Linked DNA regions of Homo sapiens: region 1 is linked to region 2. The links are contacts of gene promoters, found by promoter capture Hi-C in blood cells and fetal thymus (Javierre and others, 2016). All regions are on one chromosome and are shown on one strand. The core of a region is centred on a gene start or on the middle of the fragment in contact, and the rest is flanking DNA. Distances in the headings are between cores, read along the strand shown. Region 1 overlaps ELAPOR2 (endosome-lysosome associated apoptosis and autophagy regulator family member 2). Region 2 holds the start of ELAPOR2 (endosome-lysosome associated apoptosis and autophagy regulator family member 2).

Region 1 (6,633 bases), core at 3,558-6,057, 110 kb after region 2:
TTTTTTCTTTTTCTTTTCTTTTCCTTTTTTTTTTGTTTTTTGCAGAGTTCTTTTCTAATGCTATTATTTTTCACTTGAAGACAGTGGATTTTTCTCAGTTTAGTTATACTAAAATCTTCTGGCTGCATGGTAACCGTGGGTTTATTGGGTAGAGAGTCATGGAGTCTGTTAGAAAGTCTGCCACTAGAAACAGTAGAAAAGTTGAACTTGGTTGCTTATGGTTACACAGAAGAAGAAACTTGGAATCTGAATTGGGATGGTTTGGATCAGATAATCTCAAAGGTCTCTTTTGGTGATTCTGATTATTTTAATTGTTATTATTACATATCACAGATTTATTCATTCTGTGATCAAATCATGCCTCAAATCACATTACCTGTGAATTATAGTGCAATACTAATATATCTTCTTAATGCTCATGAATATTCTCTTCTGATAGGAATATTGCAATGTCTGCCACTATTAGTATTTGGACAGTGTTACCTTCCTTTCTCCTCTTCCAGCCTTAAATTGAACATGACAGATAGTTGATGTACTCACAACCAGCTTTCATTGTTGCCTTGTATGTTTTGACATGAAAACTACCCTCAGGATAAAAAAAAAATTCCCAATTAGAGAGAACAAGAATTCCCTTCAGCCAGGGGAAAAAATCTGCTTTACTGTGATTAAGAGAATATCAGCAAGAAATGGCCTGTTTTAATGTACTGTTTGACTTTCCCTATCATACTTTTATTTTCATAAAATGAGAATTATAGATTACTTTTTCTTCTCTAAGAATTTCACAAATAACAGCTTAAAAGGATGGTGTTCAAGTGCTGTCCTTATCACTGGTACTGAAGGAGGAAGAAGATCTGAGATTTGCTGGATTCAATATGCTGTTCAGTCTCTCTTAGATGCCATTTTCTGCTTTTTTGGTGTGTGAAAAGAATGATAATAAATCTGGCAGGCACTTAAAGTTTTAATTATCTGATAATGATAATTAATTGGCTACATGAGAGATGGAAGTAGAACTTATTTGTGAGGTTCACACACTAAGCATTGTTCTCTTTCTTTGTATTATCCTTAATGGCAGTGAGTAATAGTAAGAACAGTTGCAAGAGCATCAGCGTGTCGTCGATATAAGAATGTCTATGGTTTGAACCTTATTCATCTTATTTAAATAAGACTAACCCATTGAAGAAAAATAGACATATGGGCTTGTCTTGATCCTGGAATTGATTTACTTTATATTTCCCCACAAATATATATAATTATACTTAGCTGATATTAACTGACAAGATGGATTACAATGAATTTATACTTAGTGAGATATAAATTTGATTTATTTTGAGGAAGATCAGTCTAGATTAGACTATCATGGAAGCTCTGAGAAAGCCACAATGTTGTTCCCAGATATTTATCTGTAATAAGTTTGCATAGGTTCACTATATCATTAACATCTCATTAAACAAGTAAATTGAAAATCCGTTTATTATTACTTACTATTGCTGTTCACTGTTTAGAAAACATATTTTAGTAATAAAAACTTTGATTAAAAAGAGCAAAAATGAGTAAATTATGAATAAATGTAATTGACAGCCATAGTCTTTCAAAACATGAGGTCTCTGGAGGAAGAAAAAGCAAAACTATGTGGCCTTGTGGTACAATGATTAAAAATAGATGTTCTTTATTGTTAGGCATAAATCATAGATGATAATCAGCATATAAATGATTCAATTCAGTAACAGTTATTTGGCATATTGTGCTGGGTAGTTGCATGATCATAGCAGTGCTTTGTATTTTCAACACTCTTTATTTTCAGAGTGGCTTCCAGAGTCTCACATTGGATTATTATAAGCAGTCCTAGGAGGGAGAAGGGGATGGTGGAGTGTGAATAAGCACAGAGGTTAAGTAAATTGCCTAAGATATTTGCTACTTGGGGACGGACTAATATAAATGCTTTTTCCGTATCTGATTATTCACACCTGCATATTTAAACCTTTACAGATTCACAGTAGCAGAAATAAATGTCAGAAAAGAAGAGGCATAAGGCTGATAAAAAGAACAGTGAGTGCAGCAAATGACCTCTTGGTTACAGTTTAGACTTCAAGATGTTGGGTTTTTAAATATCACTCTTTCACTGGGTGCTTAGGTAAACTATTGTGAAATACTTGAGGCCACTGTTAAGTAGTGCCTAAGACCTTAGGCAAATAAGGTCTTTCTGTTCTCATTAAAAACTTTGGAGTTTGCCTATCTTTAATTCAGTTTCTCTAAGATTTCAAGGTTGTTGAAGAAGAAAAATTAGAAATGACTAATTGATTCAAATTAAATACGGTAAATTCATGTTCAAAACAGCTAACAACAGTTAACAACAGCTATTAATAATAACTGTCTATCATACTGCTTGTTGAAGGGTTCCTATGTTGTATGCTAAAAAAACTGAATGAAAATAGTACAGTCTTTAAGATTATTAAAAAACCTGATGATCTAATTAAAGAACAAATGCCAAGGTAGCAGTGTTGACATAGAGAGTGGATGAGGCTAGGATGGAAGATAAAAGGAAAAGCAGGTAGTTTTGGTGGCCATCAAAGGAAGTCAGCAGTGCTAACTCTGTTGACATAGTCTTGTGGAGTAAACAGTGTTTACCAAGAAAGTGTGGCTCTTTTCTTCCTTTGACAGGTGTCTCTAAGCCTGACTTCCAGGATGAAAAAGATTGAGGAGTAGCAAATGATTAAACTATGAAAAGCTTTAGACTTACTAGCTCCTCTGTATTATTAAAGGCCCTATACTTATTCAACTAATTTGACTGCATAATTAATCTGAAGGATGTAATCCACTGGCAGAGTTCTTATAGAGATGTGTGTCCCATGTCCCTGAATTAAACTATCAATAATTGTGTGGGTTTTTTTTTTTTTTTTTTGACAGAGGCTTGCTCTGTTGCCCAGGCTGGGGTGCAGTGGCATGATCTAAGCTTACTGCAAACTCTGTCTTCCAGGCTCAAGCAATTCTCATGCCTCAGCCTCCCAAGTAGCTGAGATTACAGGTGTGCGCCACCTCGCCTGGCTAACTTTTTGTGTTTTTTGTAGAGATAGGGTTTCACCTTGTTGTCCAAGCTGGTCTCAAACTCCTGACCTCAAGCAGTCTGCCTGCCTCAGCCTCCCAAAGTGCTGGGATTACAGGTGTGAGCCACTGAGTCCAGCCTAAACTATTAATAATTGTATTTAATATTTATTGTGTGCTGCATGCCAGGTAATATGCTAAATGCTTTATATGATATATCTCCTTTATTCCCACAACTCATTGAGATAGCTATTGTTATTATTTTCCTTTTATAGGCAAAGTCATTAGACTTATGGAAGATAGAAACTTGCTAAAATATTTTTAATGCATGTTTTAGGAGTAGTACATTAAAAATCCACAAGAAATATGAGGTTATTGCTAAAATGGTTATTGCTGTATAATGCACATGAACATTAACAGTTCAGGATAGGAATGAAGAATGATGTGATGTATGATGATTAATTTGGTTGGAATTGTTTGCCCTTTTTGTATTGGTTGTAATAATTTTTTGAACTGAATTTTCTCTGAGGCCCCACCTTTGGAATCAGACAGACCAGAATTTGAGTTTCAGCTTTGCCATTGGTTAACTGTTAACTAGTTAACCTTTTTAATCAGGTTATTTAAATGCACTGTGGCTCAGTTTCCTCATCTGGTATATAGGCATAATCCCTTCCTCCCTCACCAGTCTACTATAAACACAGTTAATCCTCATTATTCATGGATTCAATATTTGCAAATTTGACTACTTGCTAAAATTTATTTGTAACCCCCAAATTAATACACTCAATGCTTTCATAGTTATTTGCAGACATATGCAGAGTGGTGAGATATCTGAGTCACCCAACTACATGAATGAACAAGGTGACACTTTGACTTCTTACTGCTTTTCTCATACTGTAAACAAGTGTCCTTTTGGTGGTTTATTTAGTACTATGTGTTTAGCATTTTAGTTATTTTTTTGGGTGATTTTGCTGCTTAAAATGGCCCTCCAAGTATAGTGCCAATGTGAAGGCTAGTGTTCCTAAGTACAAGAGGGCTGTGCTATGCCTTTCAGAGAAAAATACATGTGTTAGATAAGCTTTATTCAGGCATGAGTTATAGTTCTGTTGGCCATGAGTTCAACATTAACGAATTAACAACATATACTAAATCAGATGTTTTTAAAAAGAAATACACTTAAACAAGGTTAGGTATTGATTGGTTGACAAAGGTGATGTGACCAAAGGTTCCCAGGAACCTAACCCTGTATTTTCCATAAGAGTGATGGTCCAGTATTCATTAATTTAGTGTTTGGGGTAAATTCATATAACACAACTACTGCGAATAACAAGAATTTACTGTGTTTGTAAAGTATCAAGCATGGCACCTGGTATATACCAAATATCCATTATATTCACTTTCAACTTTATCTCTTAGTTTTCCTTCTGACTTCATGGAAACACTTGGGAAAGAAATGGGAATATTCTTTATGATTTTAATTAACAGGGCAGTGAACATTCCAAAATGGCATCATTGTATTTAGAAGACAAGATTCACAAACGCAATTCTTCTCTTTTTTATATTTTAGAGTTCTTTATAACAACATATCATAAAATATTACCTTTTATTAAGTTATAGATAATCAACTTAAAATACCATTTTGGACACTAAACTGTCTTCCAAGATAACTTTATTAGGAAGTCAATATTTTTGTCTTTGTGGGCAATGCAGTTTCTGTTGCAGCTATTCAACTCTGCCATTGTGGTGTGAAAGCAGCCATAGACAGTAGGTAAATGAATGATCGGGATTGGGTTTCAATAAAACTTTATTTACAAAAGCAGGTAGTGAGCTGGATTTCCCCTGCAGGTTGTAGTTTGCTCACCTCTGATTTAATGTACTGTAGGGTCTTGGTTTATGATATTATTATTTATCATATTAGGCAAATGTCTGATTCTGAGTTTGCTAGAAGATCCATAGACCATTGAAAATAAGCAGTTTTCCATAACTGTGTTTTTCTGTTAGTTGTGCTGGTAGTGATAATAGCTTTAATGAGCATTTGTTATATGCCAGGCACTAACCACCTTATACTATATTTTATTTTCTCAGTATGGTCACAGGATTCTTGGGGTGTCACTTCACCAGCTGGAAACCCCTGTGGCCAGTGGCACCTTTGCCTGAGTTTTGCTCAGGCCCACCAGGCTTGTTCTGCCTCCTTGGCCTGCCAGGCTGCATTTGGCTCACTCTACTGGCCTGGGTCCCACGCTGGCCAAGGGCTAGCCAGGTGCAGAGTGGCAAGGGGTGTGTGAGTGAGCATGGGGTTCAGGCTACCATGCACAGCCAGGCATGACAGCTGCGGTGGGGGGAGCAACTCCAGGTGACAGCATGGGCACTGGTTCCCTGTGAGGCTGCAGCTGAACCAAGCATGCCACAAGCAGCTTCTGTGCTGGCACCGGGGAATATGGTGGCACCCAGAAGCTTGGAGACAGAGCCCCAAAGAGGCTGTTACAGGAACTACAGAGCCCCAAAGAGGCTGTTACAGCCTTGACTTGGGGAGCTTCCAGGTCTGGTATCCCCAAAGGGCCACAGCTCTTCTCTCCTTCTTGTCACCTGCAACGTGGCAAGCAAGGAGCATGTTTCAGCCCTATTTGTTAAAACTCTTTTAGCTCCACCATTTGGTGGTTCCTGAGTTCTTGTCCTATATCCAGGAAGAATGAGGTATGTGGACAAGTGGAGGGTGAGCAAGGTGAAGAGGAGCTTTATTGAGCTACAGAATAGCTTAGAGGAGACCCACAGTGACTAGCTCCTCTTCATAAGCAGGGTGTCTCAGCTACTGTTCAGCTCTCAGCAGAGAGGGGACCCTGGAGTGGGTAACCGAGTCCAGGGCTTTTATGGGCCTGGGCCTCAGCCAGCCAGAGGGAGGAAGTGTGTGCTGATTGGTCAATGGGCGGCCATGGGCAGTCTGGGGGGAAAAAGCACCACAAGTTCCCATTCTGGCCCACTGACTGGCAACCCAGCCCCCAGGCTTCAGAGCCTCCCTGGCTTGAAGGTGGGGCTTTGTGGGACCCATCCCCTTCCATCCAGGAGACTCTATGCCTCCTGCCACTGTTCTGGGCACCCAGGCTGTTCGGTCAAGGAGTGCCTGCAGGCCAGTGCCAAGCTGCCTTCAGCCCCTGCTTCAGTCTCTCTCCTGTGCTTGTTGGTGGCCAAAGTCTGGAGGAGGCTGAGGTGGCAGGAAGCTGGTATGTTAGCAGAGTGCCCAGGCTCAGCCCCAACCTTGCTCTGAGATTGGAAGGGGTGCCAGGAGTGGGGAGAGGCCAGGCAGGGGGAGCAGACGTCTCCAAGCCTGTGGGGGAAGGGGTTCTTCCTGGGCCCCTGAGAGTGCCAAGATGCCCTGGTCCACAGCCATGGCTTGGGTAGCTGCAGCTGTGCTCAGGATGGTGGAGCTCCTGCCTGCTCCTGGCCCCCAAGAGCACAGGGAAGCTTGAGTCTGCCTGGGAGGACGGGGCTCTGCCTCCTCCCGCCCCAATGGCTCCATGGAACGTGCTGCCTGGTCCGCACTTCCCCCACAGTAGCCGGCTTCATGGCAGTGGTCACTCCAGGCTGGCTGCTGCTGCC
Region 2 (6,740 bases), core at 2,635-5,134:
ACCATAAAAACCCTAGAAGAAAACCTAGGCATTACCATTCAGGACATAGGCATGGGCAAGGACTTCATGTCTAAAACACCAAAAGCAATGGCAACAAAAGACAAAATTGACAAATGGGATCTAATTAAACTAAACAGCTTCCGCACAGCAAAAGAAACTACCATCAGAGTGAACAGGCAACCTACAAAATGGGAGAAAATTTTTGCAACCTACTCATCTGACAAAGGGCTAATATCCGGAATCTACAATGAACTCAAACAAATTTACAAGAAAAAAACAAACAACCCCATCAAAAAGTGGGCGAAGGACATGAACAGACACTTCTCAAAAGAACACATTTATGCAGCCAAAAAACACATGAAAAAATGCTCACCATCACTGGCCATCAGAGAAATGCAAATCAAAACCACAATGAGATACCATCTCACACCAGTTAGAATGGCAATCATTAAAAAGTCAGGAAACAACAGGTGCTGGAGAGGATGTGGAGAAATAGGAACACTTTTACACTGTTGGTGGGACTGTAAACTAGTTCAACCATTGTGGAAGTCAGTGTGGCGATTCCTCAGGGATCTAGAACTAGAAATACCATTTGACCCAGTCATCCCATTACTGGGTATATACCCAAAGGACTATAAATCATGCTGCTATAAAGACACATGCACACGTATGTTTATTGCGGCATTATTGACAATAGCAAAGACTTGGAACCAACCCAAATGCCCAACAATGATAGACTGGATTAAGAAAATGTGGCACATATACACCATGGAATACTATGCAGCCATAAAAAATGATGAGTTCATGTCCTTTGTAGGGACATGGATGAAATTGCAAATCATCATTCTCAGTAAACTATTGCAAGAACAAAAAACCAAACACCGCATATTCTCACTCATAGGTGGGAATTGAACAATGAGAACACATGGACACAGGAAGGGGAACATCACACTCTGGGGCCTGTTGTGGGGTGGGGGGAGGGGGGAGGGATAGCACTGGGAGATATACCTAATGCTAGATGACGAGTTAGTGGGTGCAGCACACCAGCATGGCACATGTATACATATGTAACTAAACTGCACATTGTGCACATGTACCCTAAAACTTAAAGTATAATAATAAAAATAAAAATAAAAATAAAATAAATAAAAATTGGGGTTATTTATACCACAATCTGATTTAAGTTAAAAAAGAAAATAAATCTATTTATATAGCATCATTTTGGCTATGGCTTTTGTTGATACAGCTAAGGCTTTTGTTGACTTTTTAACAAAATTCAGTTCAATTTTCAGGTATACACTGCACAAATAAAGTGGAAAAATGATTATTACCTAGTGATTGTAAGCTATTTCAACCCATTCTTGCAAAAATTTCATTATGAATTTTCTATTAAAGTATATTTTTATAAAACTATCTTTAAGAGTAAATTTATTGATCAGATAATCACAAACTTTGAATAATTTGCTATTACATCCTAAAATAACAGGTAGAAGAGGACCTTAGAGTCTTCTTGAAATTTCCTTTCTCTGTCAGCCTTTATGCTGATTTTAATTATCCAAGGTCAAGATCTTTTTTATGGATGGGACAACTATGAGAAAAGTATTTATTGAAAGTGGCAAGTTGTCCTACTCTGGAAAATCTACAATTGTCATTTGATCCAAGTGCATTGACTGGACGACTCTTATTTTTATAAGGAAAGAAGCTGTTTTCAATTTAATAGTCATGTTGTTAGTTCTTTCTCAGATGACAAAAATCATAACATAATTTGACTCCTAAAAATTCCACATGAATTAAAGAATAAAGCATATAAAAAGGAAATAATAACAAAATATAACAAAATAAGAAAACATAGGCATCTGTATGATTTTGCAGAGATACGTGTACTTCTAGATATAAAAAAGGAAGAAATCACAAAAGAAAATGTTGCTACATTTGAATACCTAAAGATGACAAGCTTCTGCCAGAAAAGCTATCAGAAGTAAATTTAAAAGACTACAAAAAAGTATTTGTAAGATATATGATAAACATACACAAAGCTTATGAAGATTGCTAACGAATCAATAAAAAATGGAACTTCAATAAAATGGCTAAAGTGTGCCAGTGAAAAATTCTCACACCCTGACATGAGAAGGAAAAATGCAAATAGCTAGTAGATATATATAAAAAATCACTCGATGTCACCAATGATAAAAATACATTTTAAAAATAATAGCTTTTGTCTCTTCTACCAAAATGATAAATATCTGAAGTATTATAATCTAGGGTGATGTGAAATAAATACTCATAAACTGCTGGTAACAATTGCTACAAATTTTTTGGAAGGAATTTGTACACTATTCGTCAAAAACTTTAAAAATACACATATCATGTGATCCAATGTTTTCACTTCTAGAAAGTTATCATAAAATATTTAAAGATGCACACAGATTATGTTCCAAGGGCATTCTTTCCAGAATTATTAATAACACTGAATCCTTAAACAATGCCTAATATCTAATAGTAAATTACATGTATCTAAAGAGTAGAAAATATTTTACAATTATTAAAGTTGTGTTGTTGGAGACTTTAATGACTTGAGAAAATATTTATGTTATTAAGAATAAAAATAAAAGCAGGTTACAAATTATTATTCCAGTTTTGCAGTACACACAGAGTTAAAAAAAAAAAAGCAAGGAAATTCCTCAACATGTTAATACCATTAACAATGTTATCTCTGGGTGGTAGGATCTCTAGTTATTTTTATATTCTTCCTGATACTTTTCAATATTTTCCAAAATGTTTACAAATAACATATATTGTTATAATCAGAATATAGGTGTGATACACAAATCTATATGTGTATACATACACACAAACACACATATACAGAGACTTTCATGTGGAAATTTTGTTAAAAGGATATTAGAGATAATGCCACAAACAAATGTGCCACAGGCCAACTTATAATGAGTGGGCCACGTGGATTTGTCCAGATATTCAATAATCAGAAATTTGGATGCTTCTTTTGAAAAACACAATAACTCACCCATTTACAGAATCTGAGATCAAGAAGGGATCTTGAGATCCTTGCCACTGAGGAAGGCCTTATGTCCATCTTGTTCACCATCACCTAGTTCAGTATGTTTTTGAATGAAAGAAAAAACGAAGAGCACCTCAATCATCGCACAGATGGAGAAACTGTTTCCTCCAGAAAACACAGGGCTTAATGCCCAATGTTACACATCTCCACAAAATAACACCAATAGCAGCAATAATTATGGCTACTACTACCAACACATGTCACCTACTGTGTGCCAGGCACTCTTCCAAGTGCTTTATGTACATCAACTTACTTAATCCTCATAATAATCCTACGTGGTGGGTATTATTTTCATTAAATAGGTGAGAAAACTGAGTCACACACCACGTCTACACCTCAGTCCTCTTTCTTCCCCGCCATTTCATGCACACCCTAACTAGAAATTCGATCTGACGCTAGCCAGCATGGATCCTTACAAGGGATGTTCCGAGGGCACATCTGCGTGTTTGTGTGCAATGAGGAAAGTGGCGAGCTTTTTAAAGACCCACCGCCAGAAAACAATGTCCTGATGTCCTGTATTTACTCTGGCTTCATCCCGGGAGCGCCCCTCCCAGTGGGCCACGGGGACCTGAGACAGGCTACTCCACGGGGTCCCCAGCCTCTCTCGCCCTCTAGCGCGAGGCGAGCGCCGCGCAGCCCCTGGGGACCCGCCGGGCTGGGCCGCAGCCCCCGCCCGCGCCACCTGCTCCCCAGCTCCAGCGTCCCCGCCCCGCGTCCCGCCCCCGCGCCGCGCCCGCGCCCCGCGGTCCCTCCCTCCGGCGTGACGGGAGCATCGGCGCTGGCTGCCCGGGCCGCGAGCGCAGCAGAGCTGTCAGCGGGCGGACGGGCAGCGGGTGACGGAGCGGCGAGACGAGCGCACAGCAGTCGCGGCCCGGGAGCCGGAGCTGCCGCCGCACCCCGGGAAGGCTGCCTTGCCGCCGGCCCGCCGACCGCGGCCGGACGAAGATGCTGTTCCGCGCCCGGGGGCCGGTACGGGGCAGGGGCTGGGGGCGGCCGGCGGAGGCTCCCCGCCGCGGGCGCTCGCCGCCCTGGAGCCCCGCCTGGATTTGCTGCTGGGCGCTCGCCGGCTGCCAGGCGGCCTGGGCTGGGGACCTGCCCTCCTCCTCCAGCCGCCCGCTTCCTCCTTGCCAGGAGGTGAGCAGCACCTGGTCCTCTACCTGGAGTTTGCTGGGGGAGGGCGCGGAAGATGAAGGCTGAGAGCGGTTCCTGTTTATTTCTGTTTGCCATCCCCTTTTCCTTTGCTTGGAGAACAGGGGCTTTCGTTTGCTTCGAGGGGTGAAGTTGCCCGCCCTGGTAGCTGGCCCGGAGAGGGTGTGTGGCTTCGCTGTCTCTCGGGGGATGCTTTTCTGTCCGCGCTTGTGTCTTTTGGGGGCTCTGCAGGACTTTGCGGCGTCCTTTTTGGACAGCCAGGTTTGAGGACCTGGGGTCGAGGGAAAGATTTCAGGAAGGGGAGGAGACTGGGGAAGCCCCACCAGTGGGATTTGAAGAACCATCTCATCACAGCTTTTCCAGAGAGCCAGACACAGACACCAGAGGATTTCCCGCTCCTCCTCCCCCTGTCTCCACTCCCCTGTCTCTGCAAACGCCTTCGTCCTACTCCCCTGCCCTCAGCTTCCTGATTAAGGCCCTGTGGGTTTGCTAAGCCAATGTATGGTGTCACTTAGCATCCTTCTGACAAAATGTGGATTTGAATTTGGGGGGGAAAAAAAAGGAGTATGTACTTGGTAGAGAAGATGCAGGTTGATGATGGAGAAAATTAGAAAAGACAGTGAATATGCTTCTTTTGGGAGGTGCTTTATCACCTGGCTGAAGTATTGCCGCGGTGTATTTTATAGCTTGTAATCATTGTTGTTTTACAGCCAAAAAGGATAAACTATGGGAGATGAGATTTTTATCTGGCTTTTAGAAGAACGAGACAGTGTGCCAAAAATTTACAGGGGGTGTCATTGGTTCTTGTATTGGGTGTTTATCTTTCCATTTAGTGTTCAGAAAGTGCATCCTCTTAATGAAAATCAATGAGGGGAAGGAAGCAACATTTCTGACCTACTTTGATTGTGTTGGGAGGATATATGGAATAGATACTGTTTTTAGGAAGATTGTTAGGAATCAGGGCGATGGGTCGTTTTAATTAATGTAGCAAAAATAGGTTAGCCAATAGCCCCTCTGGGAAGAAAGGCCAGACCCTCTTGTTTGTGTATGTTGCTCTAACTTCTGAATTTTACCGAGACTTGAATTACAGAGTATCTGTGTTCTACACATCATCCATCATCTATGGATTTTCGTCTTTCTCTCCTACAGTACAGGTCCCAGGACAGACTGAAATGAAAGAGAATCGGATCAAAGGCTTGTGTGCGAACACACAGCAATGTTGTAATTGGGGAAATCAGGGCAAGAGCTCAACAAACAGCTGTGTTTAATTTTAGGGCTTTTTAGTATAATGAGCTTAATCTATATTCTACAACTTTACATATCACCTGGGAATAATCCATTATTCCAGGTTTCCACAGAAAGCTGCTTCTTGGACATCTCAGATTGAACAGTTGTGACAAGATAAACTTTATCCTCCAGCCCCCAACTTCTAATATGCAGAATATATTTTTCTAAACTGAAAAGTCTTAAGCTTCTGATAACATCGATTCTTAGTAATGAAAATCTGCTTGAAGTAGGCGAAGGTCAGGGTCAATAGAAGTGATGCCTTTGGTCTCTACAACTAGACTAATCTTTTAGATGAACACATGTCCTACACATGTATACCTAGAAAGAAGAGTCTGCAACCTAAAACAAAGATTGAAAGGAGGGGCAGAGAGATGACAGAAGGTTCAGGAAGGCTGGGTTCACTTGATCACAGGTCCTTACTGCATTGGCTTTAGAAATTGCATGTGACTCATCCGTTGAGATCTGAAATTTACATTTTCCTTCTGAAAAATGAGAATAAATAAAATATATAGGAGGACGCTATTGAGCCTGCCTTTGGCTGTATGTTTTTATAAATGTTAATGCACAGATCCATTTATGTTCTTCCTGATGACTGACAAGTAAGAGGAACTAATGGGAGTTAGAAGTTCTTGGAAGTAGAAGAGGCCTAGTGACCTCCCAGGGGTTGAATCTGTTTGATATCTGGTCTAACCAGTGGAGCTAATTTACAGAATTGGTCATTGTTTTTCTCTGACATTGTTTTTAAGAGGAAAGTGGGGAGGGCAAGTTATTTTCAGACTTTGAAGGTAAAGGAATGTTTGTGCTGGGAGTGGGGAAAGGGTATCCTCTTGAGCTCAGCCCTTTCCTCTGAATACAGTTATGGGATTGTGGGCTAAACGCCTGTGAATAAAGACACAGTTAAAGTAACTACTCTGTGTTCACTCCTGCTCGTTTATCATTTTCCACTTTTTGTTAACATTAAAGGAGGCAAATGCCACAAAGGACAGACTATGCAGTGGGGAACAGAGTGAGGGCAGTTAAAGTGAGGAATTTTCAGGCTGAGAGCTAAAACCAACTCTCAATGTGAGAGAATGTTGAGGAGTATAGAAAAAGCTATAGGCCATTTTGAACCTCATTTCCCCCCAGTAGTTTGTGTCACCCTCATTTATTAATATTTTTGTAGAAGTAGTCATGTTTAACAAAGTTACATAAACTCTGATTTTCCTGCCTGGTTTTAGAGGAAAGC

What was found. The method cuts DNA at HindIII sites, captures the fragments that hold promoters and counts their contacts. A CHiCAGO score of 5 or more calls a contact.
Region 1: a fragment that was not itself captured here is called in contact with the fragment with the promoter of ELAPOR2 in region 2 in 7 of 17 cell types (naive CD4 T cells, naive CD8 T cells, total CD8 T cells and 4 more); the score reaches 6.3 in naive CD4 T cells.

Annotation. Positions count from the first base shown.
Region 1 is chr7:86,949,360-86,955,992 of GRCh38, reverse strand. The region is part of intron 2 of ELAPOR2 (endosome-lysosome associated apoptosis and autophagy regulator family member 2); the gene reads left to right. Among named protein-coding and RNA genes, the nearest start is that of ELAPOR2, 110 kb to the left of the region's middle. RefSeq lists enhancers at 5,519-5,588, 6,050-6,239, 5,937-6,473, 6,474-6,633 and a silencer at 5,880-5,929. The HindIII fragment of the contact is 1,376 bases long and covers 4,120-5,495 here.
Region 2 is chr7:87,056,798-87,063,537 of GRCh38, reverse strand. ELAPOR2 (endosome-lysosome associated apoptosis and autophagy regulator family member 2) reads left to right here and starts at 3,884. Exons shown (of 22, transcript NM_001142749.3): 1 at 3,884-4,213. The coding sequence starts at 4,025. RefSeq lists silencers at 3,607-3,996, 4,087-4,156 and an enhancer at 4,422-4,922. The HindIII fragment of the contact is 3,663 bases long and covers 2,039-5,701 here.